3 separate regions of the Homo sapiens genome follow, and regions 1 and 2 are each linked to region 3. Evidence: promoter capture Hi-C in 16 types of primary human blood cells and fetal thymus (Javierre and others, 2016). All regions are on one chromosome and are shown on one strand. The core of a region is centred on a gene start or on the middle of the fragment in contact, and the rest is flanking DNA. Distances in the headings are between cores, read along the strand shown. Region 1 overlaps ATXN7L1 (ataxin 7 like 1). Region 2 overlaps ATXN7L1 (ataxin 7 like 1). Region 3 holds the start of ATXN7L1 (ataxin 7 like 1).

The links. Contacts are between HindIII fragments. The CHiCAGO score rates a contact against its expected background, and 5 or more counts as called.
Region 1: a fragment that was not itself captured here is called in contact with the fragment with the promoter of ATXN7L1 in region 3 in 1 of 17 cell types (non-activated CD4 T cells); the score reaches 6.5 in non-activated CD4 T cells.
Region 2: a fragment that was not itself captured here is called in contact with the fragment with the promoter of ATXN7L1 in region 3 in 3 of 17 cell types (naive CD8 T cells, non-activated CD4 T cells and naive CD4 T cells); the score reaches 6.4 in naive CD8 T cells.

The regions. Positions count from the first base shown.
Region 1 is chr7:105,738,532-105,743,350 of GRCh38, reverse strand. All of the region lies in intron 3 of ATXN7L1 (ataxin 7 like 1), which reads left to right. Among named protein-coding and RNA genes, the nearest start is that of ATXN7L1, 140 kb to the left of the region's middle. The HindIII fragment of the contact is 842 bases long and covers 1,092-1,933 here.
Region 2 is chr7:105,644,493-105,649,328 of GRCh38, reverse strand. All of the region lies in intron 4 of ATXN7L1 (ataxin 7 like 1), which reads left to right. Among named protein-coding and RNA genes, the nearest start is that of EFCAB10, 65 kb to the right of the region's middle. RefSeq lists an enhancer at 1-1,147 and a silencer at 1,158-1,374. The HindIII fragment of the contact is 4,314 bases long and covers 1,031-4,836 here.
Region 3 is chr7:105,873,409-105,878,086 of GRCh38, reverse strand. ATXN7L1 (ataxin 7 like 1) reads left to right here and starts at 1,488. Exons shown (of 12, transcript NM_020725.2): 1 at 1,488-1,709; 2 at 2,207-2,275. The coding sequence starts at 1,529. RefSeq lists a silencer at 1,236-1,445. The HindIII fragment of the contact is 13,815 bases long and covers 1-4,678 here.

The sequences.
Region 1 (4,819 bases), core at 263-2,762, 130 kb after region 3:
TTCCTGCCACACACTGCCTAACCGCTCTCAGCTGTTGGCAATAGGAGCAATGTGCTGAGTACCTGGCCCCAGTTCTTGGCACAGATATGTAATCATTCTTGGTTTTTCTTCTTCTCCTTTATTTTCTGTCTGTTCTTTGCCTCCGTGTGGATCCCCTGTACCTCTTCCCCTCCTCTGACTCCCTCAGTAAAATCAAGAGTTATTTTATACCAAAATATAAATCAATTACAGAAGCTGGGAGGCCAGATCTGACAGCTCCCACTCATCTCTGACCAGGAGAGGAAAAGACCCTTCAAATTCTAATTTGAAAAGCAATGAGCTTGACCTTCAGAGGTTGGGCTGCCCACAAAGAATCACTTCCTGATTTTGGCTGGGGAGATAAGGACTGGAAGTTGGGGAGGGCATAAGCATGTTGAGAGGGGGAGAGGTGAATCGTGGGATGCTGGAAGATACTCGTCAAGGGAAGCTATAGGATCCCCAGCCAGTGACCTGTTTTGGAGGAGGGCCCAGGCTGTGCGTATGTGTTTGGGAAGTGGGGGTAATGGCTGGCCATCTTATGTTTAAAATTAAAATAGCTTCCCTGGAAGTATGAATATGGAAAATAAACAGTCTGCAAGCTTAGCTAAATGGTTGTGCGTGTAAAATGGATTAATAATGTCAGTGTTTGGAAAGTGCCTGCCCAGAGTAAGCCCTCAGCATGTGGTAGCCATTTTTGTAGTGTAGAAGGACACAGACTCTGGAACCAAATTGCCTGCATCCCCATCCCAGCTCCAACATTTCTAGTTGTGCAGCCTTGGGAAAGTTGCTCTACCTCTGTGTGTCTCACTCTACCTTTATGTGTCTCACTCAGTTTTCTCTTCTGTAAAATGAGCATAAGCATAGTACACACATAATAGGGTGGTTGTGAAAATTGGGTGGATTCATGTACAAAAGGCAAATGCCTCACATATGTTAAGCTTGAGGTAAGGGTTATTGCCTATTGTACTGATGAGAGAGTCCATATGAAAATTGCCACTGGTTATTGCTCCGATGCAGGCATATTTGAGAACACCAACAAAAAGGCTGGTAGTCTTGAAATTAGATCACAAGCTTTATTTCAAGGCTAGATCTCTGCAGAAGATAAAGCCAGGCATCTCAACTGCGGGTTAAGAGTCACCTGTAGGACAGAGCATGCTTACTCTTCTGAAGTTCTAGCTCTTGAAAGGAGACAGTTGGGGCTCTTTGCCTCTGTTCGTGACAATGTGTCCTTTGAACAAGGATCTGACACCACTGCATTAGTTTGCGAGGGCTACCATAACAAAGTGCCACAATCTGGATATCTTAAGTGACAGAAATGTATCTCACAGTTCTGGAGGCAGGAAGTCCAAGATCAACATGTCAGCAGGATTGGTCCCTTCTGAGGGCTGCGAGAGAGAATCTGCTCCCTGCCTCTCTCCTGGCTTCTGGTGGTTTGCTGGAAGGCTTGGGCATTCCTTGGCTTGTAGATGCCTCACCCCCATCTCAGCTTTCATCTTCACCAGGTGCTCTCGCTGTGCATGTCACTCTCTATGTCCAGAGTTCCCTCTGTAATGACACAGTCAGATTACATTAGGGCCCACCCTCATGACCTTGTCTTAATTTGGTCATTTGCAAAGACTCTATTTCCAAATAAGGTCACGTTCACAGGTGCTAGTGTTTAGGACTTCAACATCTTTTAGGGAGAGAACCCATAAAACTCACAATTCCTCCACCCATGTCTGAATTGCTGACACTGCCTTCCAGCTGGCCGATCCATCACCCCTCTCTTCCCATCCCACTCACCTTCCACACGGGCTGAAAAATCATTCTTCGACTGCATTTTCACCACGGAGGCATCGTACTGATACTTCTATGAGAAAAGAACGTCAAGCTCAAATGTGTCAAAATCAAACACTATCCTGTTGAAAGGCAAGCTTGTATAATGTTTAGGGAGAGGATATGACCTGGTTATTGGGTAAAGAAAACTAAGGCTTTATTTTGTGTGACAGACTCTCTGTTGGCCCAGTGCTCTGACAGAAGTTCAGTGGGGGAAGGAGAGAAATGGCCATTTGAGGTCATTTGAGTTGGATTTAGATGAGCCTGATACACAAGACCCTCCCTGAGCTCTGTTCTGTCCTGAGAGGAGGCCCACAGTGCCAAAGAATTCACATCTAGAGCTGAGCCTCCGCACATCCCCACTCTGCTGCAGCCCAGCCGCGTGAACTTGGACCTGCCTTTCTGGGGCTTAGGGTTCTCACTGGTCCTGAGGAAGGCTTAAGAATGGAGCAACCGCCGGGTGCGGTGGCTCACGCGTGTAATCCCAGCACTTTGGGAGGCCGAGGCGGGCAGATCACGAGGTCAGGAGATCGAGACCATCCTGGCTAACATGGTGAAAACCCATCTCTACTAAAAATACAAAAAATTAGCCAGGCGTGGTGGCGGGCGCCTGTAGTCCCAGCTACTCAGGAGGCTGAGGCAGGAGAATGGCTTGAACCCGGGAGGCGGAGCTTCCAGTGAGCCAAGATCGCACCACCGCACTCCAGCCTGGGCGACAGAGTGAGACTCCATTAAAAAAAAAAAAAAATGAATGGAGCCACCTTTGACTGAGCAGCTGCTGTGTGTATGTAACTTCCTCTCTAATCCTCACAACAAGCTGCTAAGGTGGATGTTGTTATGCCCATTTCATCCACAGGAAACTTCAGAGAAATTAAGAGACCCCAAAGCCCACATTTCTTGTGTTACGTCACCCTGCCTCTTTAACTAACTCTTGGATCAGTGGTTTTTCCATCCCAGCTACATAGTCCATTCACTTGGGAGAACTTTGGGTTAGCGGTTTAGCATCTCTGGGAGTGGATACTGGTATTTTGTGAGTGCTTTCCAAGCAATTTGATGTATTTCTAGTGTTGAGAACCACTGCTGTAAATGCTTTGTGGATCTTGCCTGTTCTGGAAGCCCCAGAGAGTGCACATTGCCTCTGTGATCGTCACTAAACTCCTCAGCCTGGAGTCTTGAGCCTTCCACTAACCTCTCTTCTCCTTTCCAGCTTTCCCAACCAGTGTCCCTTTGTTGTAGTTTCACATGTTGTGATCAGCTGCCCCTTGGGTTCCTTATGGGTTGGACAGGTCAGCATGGTGCTGTCTGGCCTCTGCTAGGTGACACAGATTCTGGCTTTCTGGCCCTGACTTTGTTCTTGATTCAGAGATTGTCTGCACCAGGTTTTACAAATTATCTCAACCCACTAGTGTATCATGAAATCAGCAGAGTGGTACATTTGAAAATAAAAGAAGGAAACAGAGTGGATCACAGTAAGGGAAAGGTGTGGAGCTATATATACAGTATATAGTCTTCATGAAAAGTACTTATATTTCTTACAGCAGGTTCCAGTGCAGTCAAAAATGTTTGAACTGTTGAATGTTTAAATGAAATGTTTGAACCTATACCAACACATATTTATCATTGCTTTTAGAACCTGGGGCAAAATTCTCCTTCTCTAAGATCATGGAATAGTAGAGGAAAAGACCTAGAGGTCATGTTGCCGACTGATCCCCAATACCAGGGCCAGGCGGCTACACAAGGATCCCTAGGGAACTTGTTGAAAACGCTGATTCCTCAGGCCCAGTGCTGGGAATTATAATTCACTTGATCCAGGAATGTGTATTTTCTGATTCTGAGTTTCATGAACCTCTGATCTAATCTACTTTCTTCATTTGATATTGAATGACATGCCCAAGGTCACATAGCTCATTAGTGACAGAAGTGGGATTCTCCATCCCTTGCCCTCCTCCATCTTTTCACTCCACCAGTTTCTAGAGAAGAGCAAGGCAGTGGTTCTGGCCCAGACTGCAAGGTAAAATTAACTGTAAAAGTTTTTGAAAATGTGGTTGCCCTGGCTAGCCCCACCCCAAACCAACTAAGCCACAGTCTATGGAGGTGGGCCTGAATGTCTGGCCTTCTGGGCGTGCTTCTCAAACTTTAGGGTACATGCAACTCACCTGAGGATCTTGTTAAAATATAGGTTCTTCTTCCATGGGTCTGGGGTGGGGCATTTCTCTTAGGTTGGTGCAAACGTAATTGTGGTTTTTGCCATTAAAAATGGGATTTGAACCCATTTTTTAAAATGGCAAAAAGCGTGATTAATGGGCTCCCATTGATGCTGTTGCTTGTCCAGGGACCACGCTTTCTGTAGCAAGGCCTTAAGGCATGGTTCCAGGTCCCTAAAAGCCTGAAGATTTCCACACCTCTGCCAGCATCTCCCTTGCCTAGCTCAGTTTGTACCTTCCGGATTTGCATTTGATCACTCTTCAGCAGTGATTTTCCACTGTATCATTTATTAAAAGTCAGCCTCCCTAAGTATCTTGTCAGAAGGGATGGACCTTGGTTGCAAATTTTTCCCCCTTGCCCTCCCCACCTCATCCACCTAGTACTGTATTCTTCTCTACAATGTTTACTAAGCTTTGTAACAAGCTCCATGACCAACTCTGGCTTAGCGCTCTGCATCCAGCAAATAGTTATGGCACATCCAACTGGATGGGATGCAAAGGTGCACCAGACCCACAGCCTTTCTTGGAGGAGCTTATTGTCTGGTAGGTGTAGTAAGAAAAATACAAAAGTCATTATAGCTCATGCCTGCTGAGAGGCACAGATACCGTGCAGAGGGGTTGAGAGCAGGGAGCCGGATTACATGGGTTCAAATCCCAACTCAACTACTAGACAGTTGTGTAGTCTTGGAAAAATCATTGATCGTCAATTTCCCCAATTACAAAATAGGGATAAGAATAGTACATAATTCACAGGATTCTTTTACAAGTTAAATCAGTTAACG
Region 2 (4,836 bases), core at 1,938-4,437, 230 kb after region 3:
GAGGTACAGAGATGATGAGGAGAGAACTACTCCCAGCATATTAGACACAGCAGGGGAACAGGCTGCAGCCCTGAGCTCTCTGAAAGAGTTCATCCCAAGTGAACAAAACAGGCATTATGAAAGCAGCAGGGGAAGAGTGGAGACTCATCTTTCCCTTTCAAACACTGCTCCACAAAGAAAGGACAATCGTGAGTTGATAAATGCAACTAATTGTGCGACTTTGGGAAGTGTGCACATGCATCCTTTAGACTGAAGGGAAAGGAACTTTGAAGGGCTTTGGCTAAGCTCGGGGGTAACTGCCAGGCTTGTTTGTCACCTAAGCAAACAGTGTAATAAATTGCTGAGTCACCCATCAGGCTATTGCCAACTCACCACCCCCTCCCAGGTCTCACCACCTGCACATGGAGGTGTTTGCGTTACTGTGATTAGACACAAAGAAGATGGGAGATGCCCATACTGTGAAAGCAGGGGTTAGAACCTTTTGGATTCTTTCCAAATGGAAAAAAAAGTCCAACCTGTCATTCAGGGTCCACAGCCATCTGGAAGGGGCGTGCCCAAGGCTGGGACACTTTCCTGGCTGGGGAAGGTGACAGCAGAGGAAGTGAGGGGGATGCACACGGGGCCAGTGAGAGGAAGCAGAGGACAATTCCGAGACACTGGCTTCCCTGTGACTGCACTGTGGCTGCAGCATAGGCACACGCGGGATCTGTGTGTATGGGAGGTGGGGGGTGGGGCTCTTAATAGGCTCTTATGTCAGCTGAATGTTTTTGCTCAAAAAGCATCATCTCTGGGATTGGCTTTCCAGATTCTGTGGCACTATCCTGTGACCGTTTCCTCCTTTGCTTTCTCAGTTCAGGACTTTGGGGCTGTTGCCAGCTGTAGTAAAGAAAGGCTGGCCCGATGGCTAGCGTGTATACTGGGGAAGAGGATGGCAAGGTCAAATGCCTTTCCCACCATCACTCAGCTGCCTGCTTCTGTGTCTTCTCAGTCCAGGCCAAGGCAGGTTCCCTTAGAGAGAAAGCCCAAAGCTTTTGAGGGAGAGAAGGGACACCAAAGAAAAAAGTATCAGGGACAGCTCTAGGTTCTTCTCCTTCACTCTTCTAAGCCCTTCTCCATTAGCTAATGAACACCCTTAGAACACACCCAAAAGAGCGCAGTCTCCCTTCTCTCCTTCTGCCAAGTCCTTTTACCTCACATCAGAGGTGTTCACTCAGTGGCCCAGCCCCTTACCAACTCACCTGGTCTTTGAAATCTTTGAAACATTCTTGATCAGACTTTTTTCCCCAATGCTTCCCATTCTTCAATCCAGAGGACTGCACGTGAGGCTGTCTTTCCTGTTTCTGATGGGCTCCAATTTCGCATCCAGCTGAGTTCTGGAATCATTGACAGTAGAGTATGATTGGGCCACACTCATTATAAAGCAGAAAAAATTCCAAATTAGGAGACAGTCACAGACATTAGCTGGCCTGGCCCAAGCTCAGTTACACACAGTTGGGAAGAAGTGTCACCAAAGAGATGAGTCAACTGGCACGGTTCCAAATGTTGGGACCTGGTGCACCTGTGCTCGTGGGGCTGCCTTAAGGAGCACATTCAGAGCCTGACGTTGACTTTAGAGGAGTAATGCAGACTGTGCTATGAGCATTTGAGGGCTGCTTGGCTTGTTTTTGCTGTTTGTTTGTTTTTGAGACGGAGTCTCGCTCTGTTGCCAAGCTGGAGTGCAATGGCGCCATCTCAGCTCACTGCAACCTCCGTCTCCCAGGTATAAGCGATTCTCCTGCCTCAGCCTCCCAAATAGCTGGGATTACAGGCATGTGCCACCGCGCCCGGCTAATTTTGTATTTTTAGTAGAGACGGGGTATCACCATGTTGGTCAGGCTGGTCTTGAACTCCTGACCTCAGGTGATCCACTCGCCTCAGCCTCCCAAAGTGCTGGGATTACTGGCGTGAGTCACCGTACCCAGCCGGTTTTTTAAATGTATTTCCATTTGTACAATTGCTCTGGATTATTCTATCCCAGGCATCATATCTTTGTCTGCTGAAGGCCTGAGGACCTAACATCTACATAGGGCATTTTTCACAGAAACTAGAGGCGTTATGTTAACTCGTACCAGCTCATGCAACAAGAACTAGATCTGGAACTTGCAAGTTCTAATTTCCTTTCCTGAACTAACTTGGCTTCACAAAGAAATATTAATACATCAGAGAAGGCTGCCCAGGTACTAGAGCACCTTCTCTTCTTGCTAGCTGTCCATGTGTTCATATCAACACTTGAAGTTTGATTTTTTTCCCTAAAGAAATAAAAGTCAACAGATCAGAACAAGGGTGAGAAATTAAATCAATAAATCTTTTTGAACAGAACAGATTCTTCTAATTTTTTTTTTTTCCAAGACAGGGTCTCACTGTGTCACCCAAGCTGGAGTACAGTGGCACAATCCTAGCTCTCTGCAGCCCCAAACTCCTGGGTTCAAGTGACTCTCCTACCTCAGCCTCTCATGTAGCTGGTACTGTGTGTGTCCACCAACGTGCCCAGCTTATTTATAATTTTTTTTTTTTTTTTTGTAGAGACATGGTCTCACGGTGTTGTCCAGGCTGGTCTCAAATACCTGGCCTCGGCTGGGAGCAGTGGCTCATGCCTGTAATCCCAGCACTTTTAGAGGCTGAGGCAGGCAGATCACCTGAGGTCACGAGTTTGAGACCAGCCTGGCCAACATGGTGAAACCCCATCTCTACTAAAAGTACAAAAATTAGCCAAGTGTGGTGGCGGGTGCCTATAATCCCAGTTACTTGGGAGGCTGAGACAGGAGAATCACTTGAACCCAAGAGGCCGAGGTTGCAGTGAGCCGAGATTGTGCCACTGCACTCCAACCTGGGTGACAGAGACACTGTCTCAAAAACAAAACAAAACAAAAAAACACCTGGCCTCAAGCAATCCTCTCACCCTGGCCCCCCAAAATCCTAGGACTACAGACATGAGCCACCATACCTGGCCAATATGTTTGGGTTTGGGGGGTGCCAGTGGGGTCAGGGGGGAGTTGAGACAGGGTCTTGCTCTGTGCAATAGCATGATCCTAGCTCACTGTAACCTCAAACTCTTGAGCTCAAGCGATCCACCTGCAGCCTCCCAAGTAACTAGGACTACAGGCACATGCCACCATGCCTGGCTAATTTTTATTTCTATTTTGTAGAGAATGGTCTCGCTATGTTGCCCGGGCTGGTCTCAAACTCCTAGGCTCAAGCAATCCTCCCACCTCAGCCTCCCAAAGAGCTAGGATTATAGGCATGAGCCACCACAACTGGCCACTGACACTTTTTTTTTTTTTTTGAGACAGAGACTCGCTCTGTCGCCCGGGTGGGAGTACAGTGGCATGATCTCAGTGCACTGCAACCTCTGCCTCCTGGGTTCAAGTGATTCTCCCACCTTAGCCTCCTGAGTAGCTGGGATTACAGGCATGCACCACCACCCCTGGCTAATTTCTGTTTGTTTGTTTGTTTGTTTGTTTGTTTGTTTGTTTGTTTGTGGTGGCGTCTCACTCTGTCTCCCAGGCTGGAGTGCAGTGGCACTATCTCGGCTCACTGTAAGCTCTGCCTCCTGGGTTCACGCCATTCTCCTGCCTCAGCCTCTGGAGTAGCTGGGACTACAGGCGCCCGCTGCCACGCCTGGCTAATTTTTCTTTTTTTTTTTTTTTTTGGATTTTTAGCAGAGACAGGGTTTCACCATGTTAGCCAGGATGGTCTTGATCTCCTGACCTGGTGATCCACCTGCCTCGGCCTCCCAAAGTGCTGGGATTACAGGCGTGAGCCACCACGTGTGGCCAATTTCTGTATTTTTAGTAGAGACGGGGTTTCACCATGTTGGCCAGGCTGCTCTTGAACTCCTGACCTCAGGTGATCCACCCGCCTCAGCCTCCCAAAGTGCTGGGATTACAGGTGTGAGCCACTGAGCCCAGCCTCTGATCTGTATTTTTAAAGTCAGGTTTATTGAAGTATAATTTAGGTTGTAAGAGTTTTGTAATTTGCATTTTTTTTTAGTTTGTACATGTAAAACATTTTTAATTGTGGTAAAATAAGCATAACATAAAATTTACCATATTAACCGTTTTTAATGTACATTTCAGTAGTATTAAGTACATTCACACTGTTGTGCAACCAATCTCCAGAACTTTTTTTTCCATCTTGCAAAACTGAAACTCTATACAGTTGTTCAACGGGCATTAAAAAAAACTGCCCATTCTCCCTTCCCCATCCCCTGGCAACCACTGCTCTGCTTTCTGTCTCTATGAATTTGACTACTCCAGGTACCTCATATAAGTGGAATTATACAGTATTTGTCTTTTGTGACAGGCTTATTTCACTTAACATAATGTCTTCAAGGCTCCTGCCCGTGTCAGAATTTCCTTCCTTTTTAAAGCTGAATGATGCTACATTTTGCTTATCCATTCATCCATTGATGGACACTTGGGCTGCCTCCACCTTTGGCTATTGTGAATAACGCTGCTATGAACATGGGTGTACAGATCTCTCTTCAGGACCCTGATTTCTTAACTTGTGGCTTTTTAAATGTGTCAAGGAATAAGCCTAGAAGAATTCTGTATCACATTGCTTTGCATCTTTTTATCATTTGGGAAAAATCAGGAATGCAGCACTAATTTCACCAGGTAATACCTGTCTAGCATCTTGGTGTGCTCACTCTCAAAGGGTTTCTTGTGCCATTCTTCAGTGATATGGGAGTGCTTTGAGAATTGCCATTAAATAGAAAGGAGCAGCAGTTCAGCTCTATCTCAGACATTGAGACACTCTGATCAGGGACGGAATTGGCAGTGGCAGGGTTTGTTACAA
Region 3 (4,678 bases), core at 239-2,738:
GAATTCTTCACCCAGCGACACCTTAGCTATGTAGGAGCCCTTCGAAAGAGAGCAAAGGCAAATGCAGTTTATCTGAGTCTGACACAAACAAGCCGACTCACACAAACATCACAACTAAAGGCAAATCCGCAGCTCCTCCTTCATCGCCCATCCTAACACTGGCTTAGCGATACAGGGTGCCAAGCTCAGGGAAATTATTAGATGGTTCAGCCAGGGCAGAACTCAGTCAGTACAAAGCAACTTCCAATCAGTGCGCTTCAGCTGTGACAACTTGGGAAACAGCAGTGGTGAGAGCTAAAAGGGTGCTGGCGAAAGAGAAAAAAAAATATGTCGCTTGTGGGGTGAGGGCGGTGTCCATATAGTTTAGATAATTCTAGTAAACAAAAGGATTTGTTAAAAAGAAGTAACAGAAGACTTTTTAAAGCCTTCTTTAAAGGGTGAAAATCTCAACTAAAGCACCCAACGTCCAAAATCCAGAGGAAATCTAGCGCTCCCTTTCTAGCTGGCTAGAGCAGTTAAGCCTGAAGTGAATTCTCCCAGGAATCAGATTCCTGGCCAAAGGTTGCCTGCGCAAACCCGGGCCACCCTCGTCTCACGGCAGGGAGCGCTGGAAACGGCTCAGGGGCTAGGCCCGTTAGCGTCGTCTTCCAAGAGCCGTAAATTCGCCCTCCCGCTCTGCTGACCCTGGAGCAAAGTCCATGCAGTGGTTCTCTGAGAGCCGGAGATACGCACCGCGCGGGGAACCCGGGGGTCCGGGGGCCCTAACTTTTGAGTTTTGCACGCCCCGCAGCCTGAGATGGGAAGGTAGCTCGTAGCGCTCCAAACTCACCTGCGTTTCAGAACGACATCTACCCACTGGTTTCAGCTCCTAGAGCAACAACTGCAGAATCTCCATGGTCCAAAGTCCTCCAGGAAAGAGAAGAAAGGGGTGACGGGGGTGAGGGCTGGGAGGCGAGGTCACCAGGGTCCCTTCCCTGGCTCGGGTGGGGGTGGGGGGCGCAACCCCTCACGGCTCCTCCCCACCAAGCCGTCGGGACCCCAGCGGGGGCGCCTCGCGTTGGGCGACAGGGACGCGGGGAGAGAGCGACAAGCTGGAAGCAAGGGCTGCCTGCAAAACTTTCGGTCCTCCAGCGGCAACTCTGCGGGAAAGACCACCCTTCCTTCGGCCCCGCGTCGGGCCTATCCCCGTGTGCCCCGACCCCTGCGCCCCAGGCTTGGGCGGCGCCGCTGCATCCCGGCTGCCGGGCGCGCTGCAGCCTTCGCTCTCCCGCACGCGGCGCTCGCCCGTCCGCGCTGCCCCTCCCCGGCAGGCGGGCGGCCCCGGCGGGCGGGCGGGCGCGGACTGCAGGTGCCTCTCTGCTGCCCCTGGCGGCCGCGGGCGCGCGAGCCCCACCGAGCCGGCTCCGGGAGCCCGAGCGCCCGCCCCTCCTCCGCTCCCTCTCCCCTCCTCCTCCGCCGCCCTCCTCCCATCCCGCCCTTCCTCCCTCCCTCCCCCTTTCAGAACACTCAATGTCGGAACGTTCCGAAGATGACGTCGGAGCGTTCTCGAATCCCGTGTCTCTCGGCTGCTGCTGCCGAAGGAACAGGGAAAAAGCAACAAGAAGGAAGAGCAATGGCGACACTGGATCGCAAAGTGCCCAGTCCGGAGGCGTTTCTGGGCAAACCCTGGTCCTCCTGGATCGACGCCGCCAAATTACACTGCTCCGACAGTAAGAACCCCACCACCTCCTCCTCCTTTTATTATCCTGTAACCTTTCCATTCACCTAGAGCCACTGGGAAAAAGTGTGTGTGTGAGAGAGAGAGTGGCCCCCGGTGTCCTCCATGCTTCTCCCTCTCTCTCTAAATAAATACACACAGAGACAGATCATCAATGCACAGGGAGAGGCCCGGCTGCCAGGGCTGTCTGTCTGTCTGTGCCCGGCTCCCCGTGGCAGCCCGCGGGGTGGGCTCGCAGCCCCACGGTGTTGTCCGTTTAAAAGGCTACTTTGTTGCTGCTTGCATAGTTTTTTGGGTACCTATCTGGGCCAGGTAGATGGAAACCCAGACTTGGGAGAAAATGTTGCATTGTCAATTTTTGAAAGAATTTCATATACAGTATTTATATCGATCTGTTTGCAAATAAACACTCTCCCTCCCCCCTTGACTTTGGCTTTTTTCCCCCCTTTTTTCCTTATTTTCTGTTTTCCTTTTCTTTTTCATCTGCAGATGTAGATTTAGAAGAGGCTGGAAAAGAGGGTGGAAAAAGCAGGGAGGTTATGAGGCTTAATAAAGAAGGTAAGTGGAGCTACTGGCATTTTAGTGTTAGCATGTGTGGCAGAATCTTCACAGGATTTCGAATATAATGTGAATTGTTCTGCTGGGTACAGAGTGACTAAGGCTTGTCAAAAATTGAGCACGCCCAGGTGACTACTGCTTCATGTTAACTTCTTTCAAAGTATAAATACAACTGGGGGGGGGGTAAAGGGGGGTGAGACTGTTGAAGGCAGAAGTTTACTGCACTTCAGTTGGACTCCACGTTTGAACCTTCTGATGCATATCTGCCATTCTCCTTGGGAGCATCATTGCCAAATGGTGGGGCGTTAAAATTTCTGAAATGAAGAGTGGAGTTCCCTTCACAAGCATCCCAGCCTTTCTCGTGGGTGAATGCACAACAGCTTAATGAACCCCACATGGTCAGTCATTCCAGCAGCTACTTCTCCACTCACCACTGAAAACCATTGTACATGGCAAACCTTTGCAGCAAGTTACATTTGGCCCACTTTGCATTTGGTCACAGATTGTTATGTGGCAAGCAGGGTTAGGAGCATCTGTATGTGCAGCCCCTCAGCAGTCATCATCTCTCTTTTCCCAGCATGGAAATACGGTACCTGAAATGGGACACACTGAGTAGATAGGTCATCCCAGACCAAGATATGCAAGAGAAGCCACAACCTGCTGCAATTGGGCATCAAACACATATGGTCGTCATAAATAAATCATATCCTGTTCTCATTTGCAAGCCTGCCGTATGTAACTCTGGCCTATGGGCTTCAAATGGAGCAACTCCGGGGGCCACTTGCTGCTAAGCAAATAGGTGGATTCATTTGAATTGTGATTCACTAACTGATGTCTTATAAACATAATTGGCTGAAATTGGGGGTGGGAAGATGGCACAAGGGGACAGAAGAGGTTGGTGGTATTGAAAGAGTTCAGACATAAGTAGGCCATAGGTGCATTGGTCATCCCAAATGAATGGAGAAAAGGCCATTAGATGCCAAAGAATGGTCCCCCTCATAAAAAGGGATGTCACCCTGGAAGGCAGCTGAAGCCTGCGTGGAAAGATGGAACTCATTTTATGAATCAACACTTCAGATGGTTGGTTTTCTGTGCCCAATCATTTCCTGACCATCCACTGAGAGGAAATTTTGTGCTTCAGAAAAAATAACATGAAGGTTAAAATGCGTACATATTCAAGGACAGTTCCCTAGCATAATGTTTCTGCTAATTAAGCACTTTGGGAACAAAACATTATTCTAAAGATGTTTGCTTCTAAATATCTTAGTGTGATCTTGACAGGTGTCTTCAGGATGCACGAGGGATTGATGTCAAGTGGACTTCTTACAAGTGGCAGCTTATTTGTGTTAAATGTTCATGTGTGTTGGCAGTGGGAAGCATCACTAGAGATTATTTTTCTTCACACACAAACTCTTGAGATCTCTAAGTGCTTGCAAGACCCAGTTATCAGGCTACTGGCAACGTGTCCATAAAAGATGATGAGGCTGTGGAAATCTTTAAATTAAAGTTGAGTAAAGGTCATGGTATAGCACAGGATTGTCACCTCTCAGGTCTGGGTGATGCGTTATGACTATCACACACAAAACTCACATCCTTTCCCCCCAGTCCCTGTTTCTATTTCAGAAGACTGTTGTTCTCAGATTCTCTTTGCCTCATGAGAAACAGATTTTTTTTTTTTTTTTTTTTTTGATACGGATTCTCACTCTGTCGCCAGGCTGGAGTACAGTGGTACGATCTTGGCTCACTGCAACCTCCGCCTCCCGGGTTCAAGCGATTCTCCTGCCTCAGCCTCCTGCATAGCTGGAACTACAGGCACGTGCCACCACACCCAGTTAATTTTTGTATTTTTAGTAGAGACGGGGTTTCACCATGTTGGCCAGGATGGTCTTGATCTCTTGACCTCGTGATCTGCCCACTTGGCCTCCCGAAGTGCTGGAATTACAGGCATGAGCCACCGTGCCTGGCTGAGAAACGGATTCTTTTAAGAAAAAATGAAAAGCTCTCCTTTCCTCAGAAGTCACAGGTGGTACATCCCGCTTATTAGGTCCTTTGTCCTATAAAGGTACGAAGATTTAGCTCCTAATTATACATATTTGCATTAAGGACACCCACTGTTCAGTGTAACTTGAAATTGCTAACTTCACCAAAATAGCCATATATGGGCTGAAATCTCTTTGTTCACAGGCCTGGTGGAACAGACTTGGGTGAGCAATTCCTGATGGTCTTTCTGGTATATATGCATGCAGTTTTCTTTATAGATAAAATATCTATATACTGAATACGTATTCCCCCATGGTGAGAAATTGAAGGGTTGAGCTGAGACAGGGTGTTTATTTGGTTACCTGGATCTCCAGTAATGCTTGCCATGGGCCCTCTTTTTGGAGTGATCAACAAAGTCCTGGG